3 separate regions of the Homo sapiens genome follow, and all the other regions are linked to region 3. The links are contacts of gene promoters, found by promoter capture Hi-C in blood cells and fetal thymus (Javierre and others, 2016). All regions are on one chromosome and are shown on one strand. Each heading gives the region's core, a stretch centred on a gene start or on the middle of the fragment in contact. The rest is flanking DNA. Distances are from core to core; before and after follow the strand shown.

Region 1 (4,098 bases), core at 68-2,567, 200 kb before region 3:
TGCTGTGTGGCAGGCCCTGTGCAGAGCATTGTACACGCATGTTGCTGTTTAATCTTCGCTACAACCTTGTAAGATAGATGCTTCAGTGACCCCATTATACTCTGGGAGGTCACAGAGCTAGTAAGTGGTGAAGCCAGGGTTCAAATTTGGTCTCTAAACCTCTAGCCTCTGCGTTGGAAATGCTACAGCCTCTAAGACTGGACCCCAGGAGGCCGTGGGGTCCTCCCTTCCCTTTGCAAAGCAAATTCACCAGCACCAGCTTTCCCCCAACTCCTGTGCTAGACCCCACCTCCAATTTCCCTCCCACCCCTTTCCCCTCAGTGCCTCTTCTCTTCCTTCCACAGGTATATGAGGGTGGGAGCAACGTGGACCAGTTTGTGACCCGCTTCCTCCTGAAGGAGACGGCCAATCAGATCCAGTCGCTGCTGAGCTCAGTGGAGAGTGCGGTGGAGGCCATCGAGGAACAGACCAGCCAGCTCCGGTGAGTCTCTGAGACCCTGCAGGGTCCCATGGGGGTATGCCGTGCACGCGCACGTGCCCACCTGCTGCTTGGTGGGGATGTCTGTGTACCTAAGAGCTGGGTGACCTTGGGCAAGTTGCCACAGCTCTTTGTGCCTTTGGTGCTCCATTATGTAATATAGGCACAATTATATACCTAAAATCTCAGCCATTGCAAGGATTGAATGAGATAGTAAATGCTCAGGAGAATGCCTGGTGTACATATTTATTAATACAGTGAAGACACCATTTCCCAGACTCTAATTTGTTTTGCTGCATCCACATGCTAATTGTTTATGCAGAACTATTCTGTTGTTTGGCCCACGTTTTATTTATTTATTTATTTTTTTGTTTTAGACAAAAAGTGTCGCTCTGTCGCCCAGGAGTGCAGTGGCGTGATTTTGGCTCACTACAACCTCTCCCTCCCTGGGTTCAAGCAATTCTCATGCCTCAGCCTCCTGAGTGGCTGGGACTGCAGGTGTGTAACACCATGCCTGGCTGATTTTTGTATTTTTAGTAGAGACGGGGTTTTGTCATGTTGGCCAGGCTGGTCTTGAACTCCTGGCCTCACGTGATCCACCTGCCTTAGCCTCCCAAAGTGCTGGGATGAAAGGTGTGAGCCACCACAGCTAGCCTATTTTCTCTTTCTCTCTCTCTCTTTCTTTCTCTCTTTCTCTCATTCGTTCTTTTTTCTTTTTCTATTTCCTTTTCTTTTCTTTTCTTTTTTTTTTTTTTTTGAGATCGAGTCTTGCTCTGTCACCCAGGCTGGAGTGCAGTGGCGAGATCTCAGCTCACTGCAACGTCCGCCTCCCAGGTTCAAGCGATTCTCCTGCCTCAGCCTCCCTAGTAGCTGGGATTACAGATGCCCACCAGCACACCCAGCTAATTTTTGTATTTTTAGTAGAGATGGGGTTTCACCATGTTGGCCAGGCTGGTCTTTAGGGTGATCCACCCGCCTCAGCCTCCAGGTGCTGGGATTGCAGGCTTGAGCCATGGAGCCCGGCCTTATTTTATTTATTGACACAGAATCTTGCTGTGTCCCCCAGGCTGGAGTACAGTGGCACCATTGTGGCTCACTGCAATCTCCAACTCAGGTTCAAGCAATTCTCCCACCTCAGCCTCCCAAGGAGCTGGGACTACAGGCATGTAGTCCCACCCACACCCAGCTATTTTTTTTTTTTTTTTTTTTGTAGAGACGGGGTCTCGCCATGTTGGCCAGGCTGTTCTCAAACTCCTGGTCTCAGCAATCCTGCTGTCTCAGTCTTCCAAAGGGCTGGGATTACAGGCAGGAGCCACCACACCCCAGCCCACTTTTGAAAATTAGAAAGCAGTTTAGGAAATGGCATATGGTTATAACTGCACTCTCGGCATCACATGCCGTAAGTGAAGTAACTGTAAAAATAAGCACCTGTCATTGTTTACGATCCAGCTTGAATCCTGAGGCTTGCCACCTCTCTGTTAAAAAGAGAGACTGGGGGGAAATCAGAGAGGTGTTGAAGACAGTAGTAGCAAGTTGAGAGTTTCTCAGGAGGACTGAAAGAGACGTGAAAGAGGAGTGTTTCTTTCTGGTCTTGTGTTAGGCCTTGTTTGTGTGCTTGGAACCATGGGAATGCATCTGGGGTCCCATCCTAGGTGGTGGCTGCTGTGTTAGGGGTGTGACCTGGTATTTAGAGAGGAGCGACATTCTCGTGGCTCAGCAGTCCCATCTCCCGGGGAACACGAGCACCCGTCCCCCCGCCCACCTCCATTTGCTGTTTCAAATTGAGAAAAACCCTTCTTTGCTCAGTTCTTCCCAGAACAGCTGATGTGCTTGACACAGAAGAAAAAGAGAAAATGCAAACAGATGAGGGAAACAGCCAGGTGTCGGCACCCAAGCTCGATTGAGCCCTTAATTTTCCAGGCAGAGAGGTACCTCAGGACCAGGATATTGGTTTGCTGGGGGACTGGGGTTTGATCGTGTGTTTCTTCGTAGTTGAAGAGCTGGTCCTGATCAGACATGATTGTGAAGGTAACTCTGAGACACTGTTTCCCAAATGAGTTTGATCTGAGCATTTGCGCTGAATCACCTGGGAAAATTAAAATACACATTCCTGGGCTCCTGGCCATACTCACTGGCTAGAATCCCTGGACTGGAGCCCAGAACTCTGCACATGTGGTCAGTCTTGTGATTCTTGGGTGCCCCAGAATTAGCAGCCATCGCTGTGAAAAAAGCTGACACTTAGATTTCCTGGGTTTTCCTGTTACTATCTTGATGAAAAACTTGCTGTTTTTCTCCTGCCGCAGAACAGATAGTATGGCTGCGCAGTTTTCAGGGCAGACTTCCCACACTGGGTCAGCTCCATCACGCGTCAGCAGTTACACCCACCTGCCCCCATGGTGGGGACCTTACTTGGGGATGTTGTCAGACGGGGCAGCTTGTCGTGATACCTCTGTTCCACACATGCCCCTCCCTCGAACTTCCCCAAATCTCAGCTAGTTTGGCTCTAGGCTGTGGGTCCCTGAGGACTATCCTGTTTCCCAGCCCCAGGACAGTCTCCCAGGATGTCACCTCTAGCACAGGCTACTGGCTCAGACCCCACCACCCGGGAGCCCTGAGCAACCCGTCATGGTCTGAGGGATACATTTAATTTCCTGCTGGTTTATAGAGAAGCCATGATTGACACCATAAAGACTCTGCCAGCCTCTCCCCTCCCAAGGCGGGAGTCGAGTTTGCTCCCTCCGCAAGGGGGAGAGCCTGGCGGAGTGTTCAAGGTTCACAAGAGACAAATTCCAGAATGCACCAAGACCGCGATGCACAGAGACCAAGCGGGTGTTGGGGCCGTGCACAGGGCACTCTGTGTGTCTTCTGGGGGAGTGTCTGTGTTTCTGTATGTCTGCCAGGAGCTTTTCAGCATCCTTTTGCATGGGAGGATTTGGTCATTCATTGAGCATTTTTGAGTCCCTACTATGTGCTGGACACAGTGCAAGGTGAGCTGTGTGTGTGTGTGTGTGTGTGTGTGTGTGTGTGTGTGTGTGTGTGTGTCTGCCTCTGCCTGTGGCTAGCTGTGCCTGTCAGGGCACGCAGGGGTGTGTATGCACATGAGTATGCACAGGAGAGGGGTGTCCAGGGCCGGGAGATGGGGCCAGGCCCAGGTCAGGATCACAGTTTCTGTCCTGTTACATCCCGACTGTCAGTGTCTCTTTAGGTCTCGCTTTTATGTGTATGTGTTGGAGGGGGGTCTTGAAACCAGGTCCCCCACCCCAGAGGGCACCAAACATTAAATGGGCCTATCATGAGGGAGGGAGGGGGACTTGGTCACTCCACAGCTTGGGCTCTACACGTGCCCGAAAGCTTCGAGCTGTTAGAGTGGGGGTGGGTCCCTGGCTCAGCCTCACTCTGGAACTGAATCTCTTGGGGAAAAGGCCTAGGCCGTGGGGTCCTAGAATGGAGCTGAATTCGAATCCCAGCTCTGCCCAGCTAGCTGCGTGGCCCTGGCTGAGTCACCTGCTTTAAGAACCTCATTTCCTCCTCTGTCAAAACAAAGGCCATGATGCAAGTTCTGTGCATGTGTGAGTCCACTGTCTTGCGTAATAAATGCCTGTGGAAGATGCTGGAAGTGG
Region 2 (4,256 bases), core at 549-3,048, 130 kb before region 3:
ACGCCACAGAGCTACCATGACGGCCTTTTTCTATGACGGCTGGATTCATCAGAAACTAAATGCGAGCTAATTTCACTAGCTGGGCTTGCAGGGCATACATCATTTTTAAGCCTTAGCTAAAGTAACCCAGGCTATTAATAAAGAGTGGATGAGAGCAAAGAGCAGCCACTTCCTGTGGGGTGGAGGCTCGGTGGATCTCTGCTGCCCTTCCTCCCTGGGATCCCCGCAGACGGATGATCAGGCCCAGCTATGCTTCTGTCACAACCTACCGAAGGGAGGCCCAGAGGCGCTCTGTGTTTCTCTAAACACAAGGGAAGATGGGCACGTCTCTATCCAGGGGAGAAGGAGGGGCCTGTGGTTCCAGCTGAGTGGGAGGAGGAGAAAGGGGGCGTGGCGGAAGAAGCACCGCTGGCAGTGCCCCGCCTCTGGGAAAGCCCTTCATGGAGGGGACGTGTGGCTGAAAGCCAGGAGAGGCCATCAGAGGACCCTGGTTCAGAATGTCAATACGACTGGGCAAGGCCAAGGGCTCTGGAATTTACCTTCAGCGCACCCCGTGACCTATGCGCAAGGCCCTCAGGACCCTGGCACCACCACGTGGTGTCCAGGGCTGGACTGCACAGACAGGGGTGCCCCTTCCTGATCCCATTTCTGGACAATTCCTGGAACCCAGAGAAACTCCTCTTGGTAGCTATAAACTCTTTGGAAGAGTACAGGGGACTCTAGAGCAAAAGAACTGCCCAGGCTCGGCTGGAAAGGCCTGGTACCAATTGCCTTGGGTAGTGGAGAAGAACCTGCCCTAGGCAGTCTATGTAGCCAGTCAGGATCCCTGGAGAGACAGACAGGATGAGACCACCTAAGGGACACACCCCAGCTCAGTCAAGTCCCTCCCAGGGGGGCAGGGCAGAGAACTGAAGGGGCCTTCTGGGCTGAGGGCTGGGAGCCAGGGCGGCTGCTGCCATTGGCTGGGACCCAAACCAGCAGACAGGCATCCTGTAAGGGACGTTAATAGGTGGCTGGCAGAACTTTCATAAAGAGCGTGCAAGTTACTTTGAACATGTTTAAGTAGATCACCCAGCCGTTGTAAAATAAATTCAAATGTGAAAATCTAGGTAGCATTTTCTAAGGGAAACAACAATCTCTTAATCTGTCAGGCCTGCCCTTGCTCATGCTGGTTTGTGCCACAAAAGAAGCCAAGAGCCAAGGCCACCACAGCTCCCAGGAAGGCAGAGACAGGGAGAGTCTGGCCCGCCTCCTGGGGAGGGAGGGAGACTCCTTTGAACAAAATACAGGATGACTGAGCACAATCACAAAGCAGCCGAGAACTCACCTCCAGGAATGTCCCAGGCGCCGCTCTCTCCAGGGGACAAGGGCCTCACTTGAGGGCGATTCGATCGAAAGTTGGGTAACACCACCTTGTCCAGGTCAATGGAGAGTAGCTTCTGATGTTTCCAAAGGTTACTTCAGGAAAATGGATTAAAACAAAACAAAAATAAGCCATTGTACTAGTCTAGGTACTAGTCTAGGAAGTTCAACTGAAACTCAAGACAGAGCAAGTGATCTACGGGGAGATGTGAAATGCCATTTGCGTCCACGGCCACCTAAATGCCACTGACAGCAACTATGGTGGCCGTTTCCACGTCCCGAGGGAGAAAGATCAAAATCAAGTCCCTGTTCATGAGATTCTACTGAGTTTACAATATGACCAGCAGGAGCCTGTTTTTGCATAAAGCTAAACATGACCAAGCGCCTCGGGAGGACACTCCAAGCGAGGCCCTGGAAGGAGCCTGTCAGGGGGAGGAGCTGAAGCCTGCTGAGTGGACCTGAGCCTGGGGCTATCGAGGTCCTCTCCCTAAGGCCTGGAGCAGTCGGAGGCAATGGTGATTCCAGAACCACTGCATATAAGGAAGTGGGCAAACTGGTGCCGGGAACCAGACAGCATCTTTGTCTCTGAAGAAACCACTGTCTCCAGGGAGAATACGAAACATACAAGGAACCAACAGTGGGAGAGAGTCTGAGCAGCAAAACGTGGGGTCCCCATCTGCCTTGCCTGCAGGCGGGGGACGATCAAATGAACGTGTGCGATTCCTGCACTCTGTGGTGCACAGTATCATTATTAACTCTGGGATCTGAAAAACTCGTTCAGGCCAATACAACTTAGACCCGAAGAAGACAGAGAGGTTGATACGCTGGCAACAGCAGCACAGAGCTTGGGAGGACACCGGAGCTAGAGCGAAGAGCGCGATGGGAAAAACACTACTCTGGCTTAAGTGAGGGGGAAGAATACAGTAAGTTTGCAAATTAAAATTTCTCTATTTTTCTGTTATTTATTCATTTGGAAACTGTCAGCCTGTCTCTTTCACTTTGGGCAAGTGAAAGCAAAGACGTCCAGTCCTATCAGCAATTAGGCTGAAAGTCAACGCCAAGCTGGCGGGCAAGGGCTGGTCTGAGTAGAGGTTCCCTAGGCAGGCAAGAGAGAGACTCCCACTCGATACTCCCAGCTCGGCAACTGCCTGAATGCCAATGAGCACTCATTATAACCCGCCCTATTTTATAGGATTTAATTTTACACTTCAGGCTTAATCAGTCTGAAAGTTAAACTGACAGTGTTAAGTTACGGAATCAATGACATTTAGGCTTTATGACTTTGTAGCTGAATATCTATGGGCTATATTTCCATTCTAACAGTGATATCCTGTTCCAGAATCTCATTCTTTGGTGATGGCACTTTCTAGTGGAGCAGTCATGGTAACAGTCCACACCCATTACCATGTGGGTGCTTTACAGCATACTGACGGAAGGACTGAGGAGCCACCGGAGCAGGAGTTCCTCTCAGGGAGGACGCTGACACTTCCACAGCTGCCCTAGGTATGGGCACCTGATGCCAACGAAGAAGCCCAAAGCGCCTCTCCACTTCACAGATGGAAGCCTGCCCCCAGCACTGGGCTGACAGCATCTGGAGCTGTCTCCTGGTCTCAAATCTCTTTTGGAGACTCAGAATATGCGTCGATCTAGGTCTCTGGGGACCGAGAATAATTTTCAACAAGATATGAAAAGCAAGATAAATGTAAAACCCAGCAGCGTACTGAGAAGAAGGAATTACTGAGTGATTGTGAAAATCAAATTCCAGGAGCTGTCCATTATCAACATGCTGGATGGGCCGGTTCAGTATGTGATGGATTATTTGATGTGAACAGGTAGATAGCCAAGGATAGAAAGGATATTGTTATCTGCTTCAAGTCCTGAACAACACTGTGGAGAATAATTGGGTTTCTGGAAATTCAGCTAACACTGTTCACTGAGTATGAATTGCTGACCATGGCTGGAATATAAATGCTGGTTTGAATGCTAGGCTAATAGAAGGTTATAAATAAATAAGATGCAAAAATGGAAACTTATCAGAAATGTTTAAATGATGAGATGTGAACTGGAATGGAAAAGTACCCAGTGATTAAGGTTCAGGAAGAAAGCTACTGATGAGACAATGTGATGATTCTACCATTTTCCTGTGTTCTATTAAGCATATTCGAAATGAAGACATACGGTCAGTGCGTGGTGTGTTCAGCACTTTCGGTTTATGATGAGGAGTAAAGGCGGAAGGCAGCCTCGCCACCTTCACACGGGCACTCTCCTCTTCGCCTTACAGGACGGAAGGTGGCCTCCGTCCCTGGCCCCATACCATCACTGGAGGAAAAGAAGGCAGGCAGGGGGCCTGTCAAGAGGGTAGCCTCCTGCCTGAGGGGCTGGGGAGAGGGGCCGGGTACCAGGCGGCCAGGGGGCCTCGGAGGGCAAGACTCCTGCTTGATGGGGTGGGAGGTGTGCCTGCCCGGCCACGGACACAGCTCTGACAGCTGTCCCTGGCTTCATCCCCTTTCTCAGGAGAAGCTCCCCCTTTCTTCTTATATTGTCCTGTTTGGGCCAGGGACGTCACAGAAAAAGTAAGGGGGTGGCATCTGGAGAAAAAGGGGACCAGCCATGCCGAGCTGGTCCTAGCCACAGAGGGAAACAGCAGGTCCACCTCAAACACTGGGTACGGAAAGGAAACGATGCAAATGAAGAAGCCGAGTTAGTGAGCTGGAGAAGGGATCCAGGCGGCACTGCAAACAGGAGTGTGGAGACAGCAGCAGAGGTCACAGCCTGCCATCGGAGGCGGGTGCTTTCACCCCCAGTCACAGTCAGCACAGGACGTAATGACACAGAAGCATGCTCTTCTTGGACAGGCTGCAACCGCGGCCCCCGGGGATGACAGAAGAAGGGAA
Region 3 (4,407 bases), core at 504-3,003:
TTTCTATCACTCAAGAAAGTTCCAGCCAGGCACAGTGGCTCATGCCTATAATTCCAGCACTTTGGGAGGCCGAGGTGGGAGGGTTGCTTGAGTCCAGGAGTTCAAGACCAGACTGGTCAACAGAGCAAAACCCCCATCTCTACAAAATTTTTTTCTAAAAAGAAAATTCCCTGGTGCCACTTCCCAGTCAATACTTCCTTCAAGAAGGAACCACTATTTGGACTCTTATCACCACAGATTAGTTTTGCCAGTTCAAGAACTTTACATAAGTGGAATCATGGAGAGGATGTGTCTGGCTTCTTCCACGCCATGTGCCTAATAGATTCACCTGTGTTGTGTACGCAGCTGTTGTTTCCTTTTTAAATTAGTGAGTCGTGTTCCATTGTATGAATATACCATTGATTTGTTCACGCAACCTCCTGTTGGTGAGCGTTTGGGGCGTTACTGGGTTTGATGACTTTGTGGAAGTCTCTCTGTGGATATGTGCAGCCCTCAGTCCATTTCTGGACATCTGCTGTGCTGTCCCTTCACTCTCCTGGGCCTCATCCCACTCTCTGGGCTGCACACACACACAAAATGGAATTGTTCTTCCTGATGTCAATTCTTGACATGTTGGGGAGGCTGACTACCCAGCCCACCACACCTGCTTCTTCCAAGTCAAAGGTTCTGGGAGGACTCCACCACCTGGTCCTCATATGCCCCAGCATCCTCACTGTCACAATCCTGGAGAGAGCTGCCAGGCCCAGCTTCAGCAGCAGCAGCAGCAAGCACTGTGACAAATCTTACAGACACTGGTCATGCTTTCCCAAGTTAGTGGCTACTGTAAGACTCCGTTAAACTTGCAGCCTCCTTCAAGCAAATACGCGTTGCATCACAGTAAGCCTTGTGTAAATTGTCTTCATCCCTGTCTTTATCTTATTTTTCCTATGTCTCTTGATCTCTAGCTCTTCACTTTAAACAATTGTTATCTTGTCTTATTTGTATGAATTAACTCAAAATCCCTTCTTAGGGGGGAAAAAGGCAGAGTATCAAATGGCTATTTTCTTAAAAAAAATTATTTATTTATTTTTTGAGGCAGAGTCTCGCTCTGTTGCCCAGGCTGGAGTGCAGTGGCGCAATCTCAGTTCACTGCAGCCTCTTCCTCCCAGGTTCAAGCGATTCTCCTGCCTCAGCCTCCTGAGTAGCTGGGACTACAGGTGTGCGCCACCACGCCCACCTACATTTTGCATCAAATGGCTAATTCTTGGCTGGGGAACACTTATGTTTGGCTTCAGAAAGGCCTGCAGTGAAATTTTATATCCAATGATCCTGCTGACAGTGTGAACCCCTAATTCCTGTGTTGAAGTCTCCAGGCTCAGCCAGTGAAGCAGCTGAGCAGCCTGTGATGTGGAGGTGCCTAGGGGCCTAGGGCAGGAGCTAGAGTGTGAAACTGGACCTGACGCCCCCAGATGCTCCTCCCCCGCCTTGCAGGCTCCGCGACCACCCACGGTTAAAGAAGCAGCTGCTAGAGCAACCCCTCACCCACCCACCGGAACTTCCCTCCAGGCCATGGGACGTTGGTCTCAGCCGGAACTTCCGTCCAGGCAGTGGGACCTTGGCCTCAGCCATAAGCATCCAAGCCGCCGTCGTTGGGAGACTGGCCTTCCCATTGGCAGGGTGCACTGTCCATCACAGATCTCAGGGCTCTCATTGGCCATCGTATGGCAGGGGTGGAGCTCACCACGCTTCGTCCGCGTGCTCCCCACGTGAAGGCACCCGCCCTGCGCGTGTGAAAGGGCGAGAGCAGCGCGAGATAGGGCCTAGCGCCTCAGATCTTCGTTGGCGGCCATGGCTTCGGCTTCTCAGGGCGCTGACGACGACGGCAGTCGTAGGAAGCCCCGCCTGGCTGCATCGTTGCAGATCAGCCCCCAGCCCCGCCCCTGGCGACCGCTACCCGCCCAGGCCCAAAGTGCCTGGGGGCCCGCGCCCGCGCCCGCGACGTATCGCGCGGAGGGCGGGTGGCCCCAGGTCTCGGTGTTGAGGGACAGTGGGCCTGGGGCAGGGGCCGGAGTCGGGGAACTGGGGGCAGCCCGGGCGTGGGAAAACTTGGGGGAACAGATGGGGAAGGCCCCGAGGGTCCCTGTGCCCCCAGCAGGGCTCAGCCTGCCGCTCAAAGACCCACCTGCCAGCCAGGCCGTGTCCTTGCTCACGGAGTACGCGGCCAGCCTGGGCATCTTCCTGCTCTTCCGGGAGGACCAGCCACCAGGTGAGGCCGGGCCGGGGCATGGCTGTGCCAGAGGGCAGAGCCACGGAGGGCTGGGTCCCAGGACGTGGGGAGCAGGGGGTCTGGGGAAGGTGGACCTTGGTCCCTATGCTCAGAGACACCGCCGGAGCAGGACCTGGCCTGAGCTTGGGACCTTGGGGTGGACCCTGCTGTGAGCAGCGATCTCCAAGGATCACCAGCCACACCAGATGCTCAACTGTGAAAGAGTCATGGCAGGTGAACATTCTTCCCACCTGACTTCCAGGGAGGTTAAGGCCCCCTGGTATTTCTGTATACGTTTTTAGAGCCACTTACATGCAATTTAAGTTGCCGTGCTAGCATTGGAGATACCGAAATGGGAGCCACTCCCCTGACTTAAAAGACATTATTAAGCACAGTTTGGTAAGGGTAATACCGTGTACATGATACAGAGGTAAACCGTTATTTCCTCTTCTTCAATACATACCCCTTAAATCCCTTAACTCAGAGTGGTTGTTTTGTGTTTTGGATTTTTTTTGAGACAGGGTCTTACTCTGTTGCCCAGACTGGAATGCGGTGGAACAAGCTTGCCTCACTGCAGCGTCCGCCTCCTGGGCTCAAGTGATACTCCCGCCTCAGCCTCCCGAGGAGCTGGGACTACAGGTGGACTCCACTACACCTGGCTAATTTTTGTATTTTTTTTGTAGAGATTATGTGGTTTTACCATGTTGCCAAGATTGTTCTTGAAGTCCTGGGCTCCAGCTATCTGACCTCCTGGGCCTCCAAAGTGCTGAGATTACAGGTGTGAGCCACCACACTTGGCCCAGAGTTTTAATTTAAAAGTTAATTGCAGACATTATGCTCCTTACCTGTAAATACATTCACGTGTTTTTTGTTTGTTTGTTTGTTTGTTTTTCTTTTTTCTTTCTTTTTGAGATGGAGTTTCACTCTTGTGGCCCAGGCTGGAGTTCAGTGGCACTATCTCAGCCCACTGCAACCTCTGCCTCCCAAGTTCAAGTGATTCTCCTACCTCAGCCTCCTGAGTAGCTGGGATTACAGGTGTCCACACCAAGCCCGGCTAATTTATTTTTGTATTTTTAGTACAGATGGGGTTTCACCATGTTGGCCAGGCTGGTCTCAAACTCCTGACCTCTAGTGATCCGCCCGCCTTGGCCTCCCAAAGTGCTGGGATTATAGGTTAGAGCCACCTTGCCCAGCCCTCTTTTTTTTTTTCCTTTGAGACAGAGTCTCGCTCTGTGGCCCAGGCTGGAGTGCAGTGGTGAGATCTCAACTCACTGCAACCTTTGCCTTTCGAATTCAAACGATTCTTGCGCCTCAGCCTCCCGAGTAGCTGGAATGACAGACTTGTGCCCCCGTGCCCAGCTAATTTTTTTGTGTTTTAATAGAGATGGGGTTTCACCGTGTTGGCCATGCTGGTCTTGAGTTCCTGTCCTCAGCCCCACAAAGTGCTGGGATTACAGGAGTGAGCCACTGTGCCCGGCCTCATCTATATTTCTTAAAAACAAGGGCATCTCTTATGTAACTACAATACAATTATCAAATCCTGGAAATTTAACATTGATATAATACCATCTTCTAATTTCTATTCACATTCAAATTTTGCCAGTTGTCCCAGTAATGACCTCATGGCCATTGTTTCCCATCCCAGTATGACATTACAGTTAGCTGTCATGCCTCTTTAATCTCTTACCTGAAACAGTTCCTGTCTTTGTCTTTCACAACATTGATGTCTTTGAAGAGTAAGGGCCAGTAGTTTTGCGAATGTCCTTCAGCTTGGGTTTGTCTGTTTCCTCAGAACTGAGTTCAGGTGATGTGTTATTGAAGTGATGTCGAGTCTTTGGCACGCATCTCACCAGGAAGTGTGCGATCTTGCTTTGTCCCCTGGCGATGCGAGCTGTGGGGATTTGACTAGGGTGGCATCTACCAGGTGTCTTCACTTTCTCCTTTGTGCTGAATAAGTCATCCAGGGGAGGCATTTGGAGATCATGTAGATATCCTGTCCCTATAACATTGTCACTTGTGGTTTTAGAAAATCATGCTTTGATGGTTCTCCCCAGATTCAGTCGCTGTTAGGATGGCAGCCACATGCTGGCTTTCTAAGGCCAACATCCCTTCCACGTCTGTCTGTGGTTGCTGGTTTTGATGCCTGTTTAGAGCAGACAGAT

The links. The method cuts DNA at HindIII sites, captures the fragments that hold promoters and counts their contacts. A CHiCAGO score of 5 or more calls a contact.
Region 1: a contact is called between a fragment that was not itself captured here and the fragment with the promoter of ADAD2 in region 3, in 3 of 17 cell types (M1 macrophages, monocytes and M0 macrophages). The highest score is 6.2, in M1 macrophages.
Region 2: a contact is called between a fragment that was not itself captured here and the fragment with the promoter of ADAD2 in region 3, in 3 of 17 cell types (erythroblasts, M0 macrophages and M2 macrophages). The highest score is 5.2, in erythroblasts.

Annotation. Positions count from the first base shown.
Region 1 is chr16:83,990,150-83,994,247 of GRCh38, forward strand. NECAB2 (N-terminal EF-hand calcium binding protein 2) reads left to right here. Exons shown (of 13, transcript NM_019065.3): 6 at 345-481. Among named protein-coding and RNA genes, the nearest start is that of NECAB2, 24 kb to the left of the region's middle. The HindIII fragment of the contact is 5,019 bases long and covers 1-3,827 here.
Region 2 is chr16:84,054,678-84,058,933 of GRCh38, forward strand. MBTPS1 (membrane bound transcription factor peptidase, site 1) reads right to left here. Exons shown (of 23, transcript NM_003791.4): 22 at 1,328-1,458. Among named protein-coding and RNA genes, the nearest start is that of SLC38A8, 14 kb to the left of the region's middle. RefSeq lists enhancers at 563-1,156, 1,157-1,749. The HindIII fragment of the contact is 5,418 bases long and covers 1-4,256 here.
Region 3 is chr16:84,189,404-84,193,810 of GRCh38, forward strand. It overlaps ADAD2 (adenosine deaminase domain containing 2), which reads left to right and starts at 1,754. Exons shown (of 10, transcript NM_001145400.2): 1 at 1,754-2,245. The coding sequence starts at 1,828. ADAD2-AS1 (ADAD2 antisense RNA 1) reads right to left here. Exons shown (of 5, transcript NR_147175.1): 5 at 3,155-4,407. RefSeq lists an enhancer at 1,500-1,794. The HindIII fragment of the contact is 4,803 bases long and covers 1-2,805 here.